Linked DNA regions of Homo sapiens: region 2 is linked to region 1. The links are contacts of gene promoters, found by promoter capture Hi-C in human tissues and cell types (Jung and others, 2019). All regions are on one chromosome and are shown on one strand. The core of a region is centred on a gene start or on the middle of the fragment in contact, and the rest is flanking DNA. Distances in the headings are between cores, read along the strand shown. Region 1 holds the start of TATDN1 (TatD DNase domain containing 1). Region 2 overlaps FAM91A1 (family with sequence similarity 91 member A1).

Evidence for each region. Contacts are between HindIII fragments. The study calls those that stand out against the background at their distance.
Region 2: a contact is called between a fragment that was not itself captured here and the fragment with the promoter of TATDN1 in region 1, in 1 of the 25 tissues and cell types used here (spleen).

What each region holds. Positions count from the first base shown.
Region 1 is chr8:124,536,023-124,540,903 of GRCh38, forward strand. TATDN1 (TatD DNase domain containing 1) reads right to left here and starts at 3,063. Exons shown (of 12, transcript NM_032026.4): 1 at 3,003-3,063. The coding sequence starts at 3,024. NDUFB9 (NADH:ubiquinone oxidoreductase subunit B9) reads left to right here and starts at 3,101. Exons shown (of 4, transcript NM_005005.3): 1 at 3,101-3,265. The coding sequence starts at 3,165. RefSeq lists an enhancer at 2,924-2,993. The HindIII fragment of the contact is 5,555 bases long and covers 252-4,881 here.
Region 2 is chr8:123,783,839-123,788,719 of GRCh38, forward strand. It overlaps FAM91A1 (family with sequence similarity 91 member A1), which reads left to right. Exons shown (of 24, transcript NM_144963.4): 9 at 632-738; 10 at 1,243-1,281; 11 at 1,791-1,903; 12 at 2,657-2,772; 13 at 3,423-3,535; 14 at 3,826-3,912. Among named protein-coding and RNA genes, the nearest start is that of FAM91A1, 18 kb to the left of the region's middle. The HindIII fragment of the contact is 4,773 bases long and covers 345-4,881 here.

The DNA of each region.
Region 1 (4,881 bases), core at 1,813-4,312:
TATCAGGAATGGAATATGATGTTTTTATTTTCACTGTTGTTTGTATTTTGCATTTTCTTCTTGCACAGATATTTCTCATTTTTTGGTGTACTATGTAGTCTAAGATCAATGCAGTAGAGATTCTGGCATATAATAGTTACAGGTAGAAGTATTTTTGAGAGTGGAAGAGTTTGTAAATAACACCCAGGGAATAGAATTCCACTTGTGGAGACAGAAAAGAGAGTATAAGCTGGGCTAAAGAAATTCTCATGCTGGCCAGTGGCTCCACGTGTAATCCCAGAACTTTGGGAGGCGGAGGTGGAAGGACTGCTTAAGGCCAGCAATTCAAGACCAGCCTGAGCAACATAGCAGGACACAGTGGTCTACAAAAAAAAATTAGCCTGGTATGGTGGTGAGCACCTCTAGTCTCAGCTACTTGGGAGGATGAGGCAGGAAGATCACTTGAGCCTAGGAGGTCAATGCTGGAGCCATGATCTAAGCCACTGTACTCCAGCCTAGGTGACAGAGCAAGACCCTGTCTCAAAACAAACAAAAACCCCCACTGTTGGGGTATAGTTCTAAGGGGCAGCCACTTGTTATGCAAGTAGAAAAGAGAGAAATGTAGAAAGAATTACAATGGTCAGCTGTCTTAAACCAAAATCTAAGGTAATTTTCATAAAATGGGTTCAATTTTTCATGCAATTGTCCCATGTGAAGCTTGTTCCAGGGATTTAATATGATGTTTTTCAAAATATTGTTCAGAACTCATTATTAGGCTAAGAAATTAGTCTAGCGATTCATGGGCAGAATTTTTTAAATGACACAAACTGAAAGATTAAATATCAGAGTAAGTCATATACCAAGGATAGAATGCATAATATGATCTCATTTCTGTTTCAAAAGGAAAAAAAAAAACCTTGATATGTTGTATTTTTATGAATCTGTATAACAATCTATTAAAAAATTAGGGAAGGCTATACTTCAAACTTTTAATATGGTTACTTTAGGAGAGTGGGGCTAAAGGAAACCATACAGAAAAAAATTTATTTCAATTATTTATTCCAATAAAGTCACCTTCTTTAAGAAGTCTTTTCTTGCTTATTTTATCTGATGCTAATCCCTTTACTAATTTTCTTATCACCTTAGCACTAAAGCCACTCATTCATACTTTCCCAAACAGTCATTGTACTACGCCCCTAGGAAAAAAATATAAATACCATACCAGTATCTGCCTTAAGAGTTTGATCTAGTGGGAAAGGCATACTCATATTTAATTATAAATAATGTGGTATAAGTTTTAAGGAGTGAGTAGGCAGACAGGCAACAGGGTAGTTGGTAGGCAGAGGAATATTTTGGCCCCAAACTGCCACTCTAAAACCTTGTCAGAGGTAACAAACAGCATGCACAAGTGTTTATAGAGCAGCCCAGGGATGGGCTAGAAAAGTGGGCAGGACTGGACCACAGAAGGGCTTTGTATGGTGTGTAAGCATTTAGGCTATCCTGAGGAGCGTAAATGAAAGATTTGAAGCAAAAGAAACATTTAGCTGATTTGATTTTTAGATACACCAAAATGGAGTCTACATGGAGGATGGATTTAAGACATTAACTTGAGGCAGGAATTTGGTTGTATAACATAAACACACTTTTAAAAAGTTATGTGGCCTTTCTTTACGGAGTACTTCATGGCTCTTTATTCCATCTCCCTCATCAATTATATCAAAGGTTAGGATGGAAAGGCTAAGACACGGCAATGTCTTATTTGACAACCCCTCCCCAAACCCCTACTCCAGGCTTTCCCACAGCAATTTCAAAACCTTTTTCCTGGCACTTAACATATTCTCCCCTGCATTTGCTTTTGACTGTACAGTACATAGGTCTTAGGTCTCCAGTCTGAAAACTGCACCACTAGATTTTACAGTTCCACAGGACTTAGCACAACGTCTTTGAAAAAAAAAAATACTGCTTAAATAACTCTCAGATCTAAATGTATAATCCTAATCTCTTGATTGCCAGACCACATTCCCAATTGCCCAGATATCTCTACCTGGATGTCCTATAATTATCTCAAACTTAACCTAATCCAAATGGACCTGGGTACCTCTCTTCACCGCCAAACTAGTCATGCTTCCATTTCATATTTAAGTACTTTTCCAAACCCTGAGTCATCTTTGTTCACTCTCTACTACCGGCCATGAACACTCAGCTGCTAAATGCTGCACACATCTCTTCCATTTCTCTCTCTTTTCCATTACCCTAGTTTAAGCTCTTGAAATGCTTCCCTACCTCTCCCTATTTCCCACAAAACCTACATAATAGCTATCAGGATTACCTTGCTAAAGCAGAGGTGTGATCACTGTCATTTCCCACCTTCAGGTAGCTGGAAACCCCACAAAACGAGGATCATGCCCATTTAAATCCCGCAGCATTCTCCCTCTCGTTCTACTGATGCCGACTGGATCATTGTACTTGCCAAGTACAGTTTGTTTTTCTCCCCATTACTTGTGTTTTCTAGTTTCTCCACCAGATGGTGATGACAGTACAACTGGGAGCTTTGTGCCCTGTGTTCCTAGGCCAGTGCCAGGCCCACTTGAGGCGCTCACTAACTATGATATGAACGAATGAATGCTTGAGTGAATTGGTCCCCAGAAGCGGTCAGCCTCTCCGCCAAGGCAGAGGGGAAGGGCCGGGAGGTGCACGTGGGATGAATGGAAACATAGTGATTGGCCTTTTTGGAGTTTTCTTCTTAAAAAACTGAATACATTACAGATGTTGAAAACAGCACAAAAATCATAACTGTACGGCTTGTTAATTTTTACAAATAAATACACCCTCGTGAATCCAGAACCTAGATCAAGAACCAGAGCATTACCAGCACCCAGAAACCTCCCCGCGCCCTCCTCCACTGAGCGGCCCTTTCAACCCTTACAATGCCGGAGGGCGCAATTCCTGGGTCCTGTGACCTTGGTGACCGACGCCCGGGACAAGTCAGAAAGACCCAAGGGCGTGGAAAACGCTCCTCTTACCGATAAACTTGAAGCGACTCATGACTGCGCATGGAGGACCTCCCCAGCGGAAGCGGAAGTGGCCGCCGGCAACTCCGCCCTTCCGGCTGGCCCCGCTCAGTCACCCGCAGCAGGCGTGCAGTTTCCCGGCTCTCCGCGCGGCCGGGGAAGGTCAGCGCCGTAATGGCGTTCTTGGCGTCGGGACCCTACCTGACCCATCAGCAAAAGGTGTTGCGGCTTTATAAGCGGGCGCTACGCCACCTCGAGTCGTGGTGCGTCCAGAGGTAAGGGATGGGGACCCAGGACTCGGGGAGGTGACCCTCGGGGCCCCATGGAGGTGGAGAGGCCCCTGGGTACCTGGAGGTTCAAGGACTTCGGGAACGGAATTGGAAGGTGGCCTCTCGCTTCACAGAATCCTATGGTAGACCCGGGTTCAAATCCAGGCTTCGCCACTTATGGCCGGGAGACCTTGTAGAGTTGCTTGTCGGGTCTGGGCGTCAGCTTTTTGTTTAGTAAAACGGACGCACGACCAGCGCAGAGGGTCGCAGGAAAATTAAGTGAAATAAAGGAAAGTGCCTAAAATTGTAATTGTCATGGGTCCAGCGCTCGCTCAATCGTTTTCTTCACGATCTTCTCCTTTCCAATATTAACAGCAATAAACTATGCATTATTTTCTTCAGTCTGCAAAACTCTAGGAGTTAGGAATTATCTTAAGCTTATTTTACAGATAAGAAGATGAGCACAGCTGGTAACTTGCGCAAGGTGATAGAGTTTCTAAGTGTCTGAGCCAGGGTTAAAATTTAGGTCTTTCTCCAAAGCATCATCATTCTCCCACCCCTCCCATTAGCTTTTCTCTTTTTAGCTTCATCTAGTCCTTTTCATTACCTTTACATCTTTTTCACCTCTTACATAATTCTCTTTCGACCTCTATCCGTCTGAGACTAGTCTGAGAACATAGTGTTAAAATGTGTAGATTTTAATCACCTAAATTCATTGCAGGGTGGGCTAACAACCCAAGATGTGTGAGTGCCTCGCCTCCACTCCAGTCTTACGACTCTCCAAACGTAGTTTTATAAGAAGGCCTTCTGGGAAAAAAACTCTATGGAAAATGGAGTAGGCCTGGAAGAATTACAGAGGGTACCCTCGAAGCCCAGATTGCATATATGTGACTATTAGAAAATCACTGACATACTTCTCTTGATTTGGCAGGAAGATGGCCAAGTACAATGTGATGGGATTGTTAGTTTCTTCCTTGAGTTTTCCTTATTTATTTATTGATTTGACAGAATTTGCAATTCAGATTCTATGCTCTATGCTAAATATATAAATGTTAGTAAATCCATTTTTGAGCAGCAGCAGCTCACGGATTAGTGGGGAAAATGGACATGTAAACAAATCGATGATGAAGGAAGTTGAGCCATCAGGGATTCAGGTATCCCAACACAAATGGTAAATGTTTGAGGTGATGAATATCCAAATTACCCTGATTTGATCATTATACATTATATGGATGTATTAAAATATCACATGTACCCCATAAATAGGTACAATAATTATGTGTCAAAAAAAGTTAAACATGAAAAAAAGAATTCAAGCAATACTGAACTATAGCTGGGAATACTAAAGTCCATAGTTCTAGAGGAAAATGATATAAACTAGCTACTATGACAGTTATGGCTCAGCATTTTTTAGATCTGACATTCTTTCTCAATCCTTGCCTTAATTTCTTCCTCCATTTGCCCTCATTGTGCTGTTCTCTGTGGTTCCATCCTAGGCATACTGTGTTGTTGTATGTACTCGGGCAGCCTCATTTAGTGCTGTCACCACCTGCGCTCATTTGTCTCTAGAGCTGTAGTTCGAATTGCTTGTTAGATCACGACTGTTGGCTGGGCATGATGGC
Region 2 (4,881 bases), core at 1,481-3,980, 750 kb before region 1:
CTGCCCACTGTGCTAAAGGGGATCTTGACCCTGTTGCCACTGAGGCCCACTGGGGAGGATACCAGAAAAGAAAGCCCCAAAGAACGAGTTAGCCCAGTGACTTCTGGTAAACATGATGGTCATGCAGATGAATTTCCATTTTTAGGATGGAGTAGGGATGATGGGGAGACAGAGCCAATACTTTGCATCCACCTGGTTTTCGTATAGCGTAGCAACTCTTTCTTGCAGTCATTTGCTTTTCAGCTTTGGCCCACTCACCCCTGCTGCCTATGAGGCATCAAAAACACATGTATCAGAAACCCTTTGCAGGCTCCCCCATTCTGAAGCAGCCCCTGTTCCCTCACCCTTCTACCAAGTCCATGTCATCCAGCATTTCTGAGTTACCTGTCTCAGTAACTCTGAGTTCCATGGTGAATTAAATGAACTCTGTGGATTTCGTGTCTACCTTCAGAGTCTTCTCTGTGTACGTATTGTAGAGTTTCAGAAAACTTGCTATGGAGTGGATAAATAAATCAAAAGCTGCATTCAGTCCCTAAGTTAGAGGTTTCTTTTTTTAATTAGATATGTAAATTATACTTTCTTGTTTTATAAAATCTGTACCACTGAGAAAAATCTCTTCTGTTTGTTTTAGTTCCACCTCTTGAAGGTTTTGTAATGAATCGAGTGCAAGGTGATTATTTTGAAACTCTACTCTATAAGATATTTGTTTCAATAGATGAGCACACAAATGTTGCAGAGGTAAGTTTGACAACGTCTCATGAAAATATAATCTCAAGATTGTAAGTTTGTGTAAAGTAAGTAAAGTTATTTAATATGGTAGTATCTTTTTAAAATCTCCATGTGGGGAGATCATACCATTATTACACTTAAATGTCATTATTCTTAACGTTCTTATAAATGTATATTAAAATTTAAGTTAATAATTTATAGTTTGGTTAACTTTTTATATGACTTTTTGTACTAAAGTATTGTAGACTATATTGATCTATCCAGGAATTTTATTTTAAATGAGACGAAATTAAAGAGTAAGGAATCTTAAATTGTTATGGTCACTCCATGGATTTGTACTATAAGGATCTTAGAGATAGGGAAAGAAGAAAGTTCTGAATTCAAAATTTATTCAGTCTTCTAATTATTCATAACTTAAAATTTTGCTGATTATGATTATATTGGTCTATTACAACTGTGTAATGTGCTGTTAATTCTAAGAATGTAAAAATAAATTTTAATTTTATCTTCTAGCTTGCAAATGTCCTTGAGATTGACTTATCCCTGGTTAAGGTATGTTATTTTTATACTCATTTACTGGTGATGTGATAACTGAGTGGATTTTACTAGTAGATTTTTATCTTGATAAGCTACTGAGAAACGAAGACATTGAGATTGTTGTTAGCTGTCTGAGAGAACGTGCACAGTAAAGGGGCACTTGCAAAGACAGGAAAGAGCAGGAAAAGGGGCCCTAAATTGGGATTCAAACACATGGACTGAAAAGAGAGCACTCATGCAAGAAGCAGCCCAAGCAGTATCTTGTAGTGAGGTCCGTTAAAGCAACAACTCCTGCTTCATTAGGGGTAGATGTAGGGAGGGCAAGGCCAGAGAGTTGGAAACATTCCCTCCTATACATTTATGAAGACTTCAAGGGAGGAGCAGGTCTACTGAAAATAGTTTCTGGTTACGGGATGAAAATGTTTGAGAATCACTATTAGTCTATTACACTATTTTTTCTCTACAAATATTGTGATGTCTAGTTTATTTTAAATGGTAATTAGTTTCCTTTATATTCCTTTCAGAATGCTGTTTCAATGTATTGCCGATTGGGCTTTGCCCATAAGAAGGGACAAGTAATTAATTTGGATCAACTTCATTCATCATGGAAGAATGTTCCATCCGTAAACAGATTAAAGTAACTTAAATTTATTCAGTATGAGCTATTAGAGTTTCCTTTTGAAAAGACATTTAATTTTACATACATAAATTTATTTATTTATTTATTTATTGAGACAAAGTCTCTCTCTGTCATCCAGGCTGGAGTGCGGTGGCGCGATCTCGGCTCACTGCAACCTCCACCTCCCCGTTTCAAGCGATTTTCATGCCTCAGCCTCCTGAGTAGTGGGGACTATAGGTGTGCACCACCATGCCCAGCTAATTTTTTGTGTTTCTGTTAGAGGTGGGGTTTCACCATGTTAGCCAGGCTGGTGTCGAACTCCTGGCCCCAACTGATCCACCCACCTTGGCCTTCCAAAGTGTTGGGATTGCAGGTGTGAGCCACTGCACCTGGCCCAGAAATTTTATTTATTCAACCTGTCAGTTGAGGTGAGCCCTTTATATTAGTGATTTTTAATCTTGTGTGTGTGTTACAGATCTTTTTTGGAATATAATGAAAACTAAGAAGGCTTTTCCCAGAAAAAAAGCAAATAAATATTTTACATAAAATCTTGAAGGGTTCTTGAATTTTCTGAAGCCTATCCGTGGATCTTAGTTAAGAACCCTTGTTGTATGTAGGCAGAGCATTTTTGGGCTGCGACTTAATTTTGGGCTTGAATATAAGACTGAATTTTGATGGATTGTTCATAATTTAAGTCTTAACTTCAGTAGATATTTTAATGTAAGGTCATTTATATGATTTTTAAAAAGCAAATGCATTCTTCATTAATAGGAGTACCTTAGATCCACAGAAGATGCTCTTGTCATGGGATGGAGGGGAAAGTAGGAGTCCTGTACAAGAAGCTTCATCGGCAACTGACACTGATACAAATAGTCAAGAAGATCCAGGTTAGCAGTAACTCAGTTTAACATAGAGTCTGTCTGTAGGTACGGCACATGTCCAAACATACACTCTTACAGTTACCTTCTAATTTTAGTTTAGATTTTATTCAATACGCAGTCTTTGAGTGTTTTACTATATTTTGGGCACTGTGCTAAGTCCTAGGTATATAAAACTGACAAGAATATGGTACCTTTCTTCTAAGAATTAAGTCTAAGGAGAGAGAAGGGAATGTGACCAAACAAATTACAACAACACGGGCACCAATTATAATGCTTGTAGGGTGCAAAGAGGAAGAGACCCTTAATTGGCTAGAGAGGTTTGGGAAGCCTTCACAGAGAAGATGTTATTTGAGCTAAGAATGAAGAAGAGCCTGCCAGCTGGTCAGGGAAGGAAAGCCATTTCAGCCCGAGAGAATAGTGAGGCTAAGCCCAAAGGGAAACACAGCATAGTGGACAAGGCCTAGGGTTAAATGCTTTTTAATATTCTTTGCGCTTCAAAATAGGTATGGCTGGAACTTCTTATGGCTATAATAGTGCCTTTTTAAAATTATGTACTTTCTGGTTATCAAATAAAGCTGAAATGAAATACTTTCACTCCAAATGGTAAGCAAAGAATAATTTCCATTTACTTGATTTTAAATTATGGTGTTTTTCAGCTGACACAGCCAGTGTAAGCAGCCTGAGTCTGTCTACAGGACACACGAAGCGCATCGCATTCCTGTTTGACTCCACTCTTACTGCCTTCTTAATGATGGGAAATCTTTCACCAGTAAGCCCAATTCTTGTTTAAATATGAAGGTGTTTAAAATAAATACTAGATATAAAATAATTTAATGCTTTTATATCTTTTTTAAAGTACTACATTTATTCCCGAAGCACAACTGACTTAGAGGAGTATAATAACTTTCAGGGAAGGTCCTTTTGTAATTGGAAGAATTAGCCCCTCACCCCCCAATCCTTAAGTTTAAATATATTTGAAAGGATAATATAAATATTTGATAGTATGCTTAGCATAAAAAGGGAGAAGTAGAACTTTAATATTTTGTTTCTTTTTTTCAGAACTTGAAAAGTCATGCAGTCACAATGTTTGAAGTAGGCAAACTCTCAGATGAGTCTCTGGACAGCTTTCTTATAGAACTAGAAAAGGTAAATGTAGATTGCATGTAAGGGGATGTTAGGGCATTTGGAATCTGTCCTTGCTTGACAGAATGCCAATTATACAGTCTGTTGATTTGGATGGGCTTTCAGTGTATTCTTGCTCGTTCCTACCTCATTCCCCAAATTAGTACTCTTACAGTCATTTAGACTTAAACATATTGAGTGGGTGAATTGATTTTGTGATTTTTAAAGTGATATGTCTACCTCATCTAATTCTTAACATAATTTGAGATAATGAAGAAATGGGGTATAGAAATTTTAGTCTGTAATGTTTTAAGTTGAATTTTTGCTAAAATAGCCTTTCAATTTTTTTTCTGGTATGACTCTCTAAGATCACCTCTTAAGCAGTTTGATTTGAAGTTTTTGTTCCATTTACCTTGAATCTGGAACAATATCCCTGGGTATCATATTTATGTCCGCTCTCACTATCCCTTTTAGCATCTTGAAGACTTCAGCCATATTTGCTCTTAACCACCTTTTTCCCCGTGAGTACAGCCCTAGTTTTCCTTAGCTCTAAATAAATCTGATTGCCCTTTATTGGTGTTTTTCATTCTTCGGATATTTTATTCTGGCCTCTTTGTATTCAAATAGTTTGTGTGCCTAATCTGTTCCTTGACTAATACTTTTCGTGCCTTTTGTGCTTTATGATGAACTTTGTATTTTCAATGCACTGTTTAGAGAATTTGTGGTGATTCTGCAACTCCTTTATATCTTAAAAAAAAAAGACTGTAACATTTTTCACTGCTCCTACTCCATAGGATTTTTACTTTTATTAGTGCAGAAATATGTGTGAGATAATCCTTTGCTATTAATTGGTCTCTTTTACTTTTACCTTTATACTGCCATTTATTTCTTCATGCTTCTTTATTTGTTAACCCCATTTCTTATTGTATATTATCTTCTACTAATAAATTTCTTACTATGTTACTGCACATTTCAAGTTCTGGTTTTCTGATT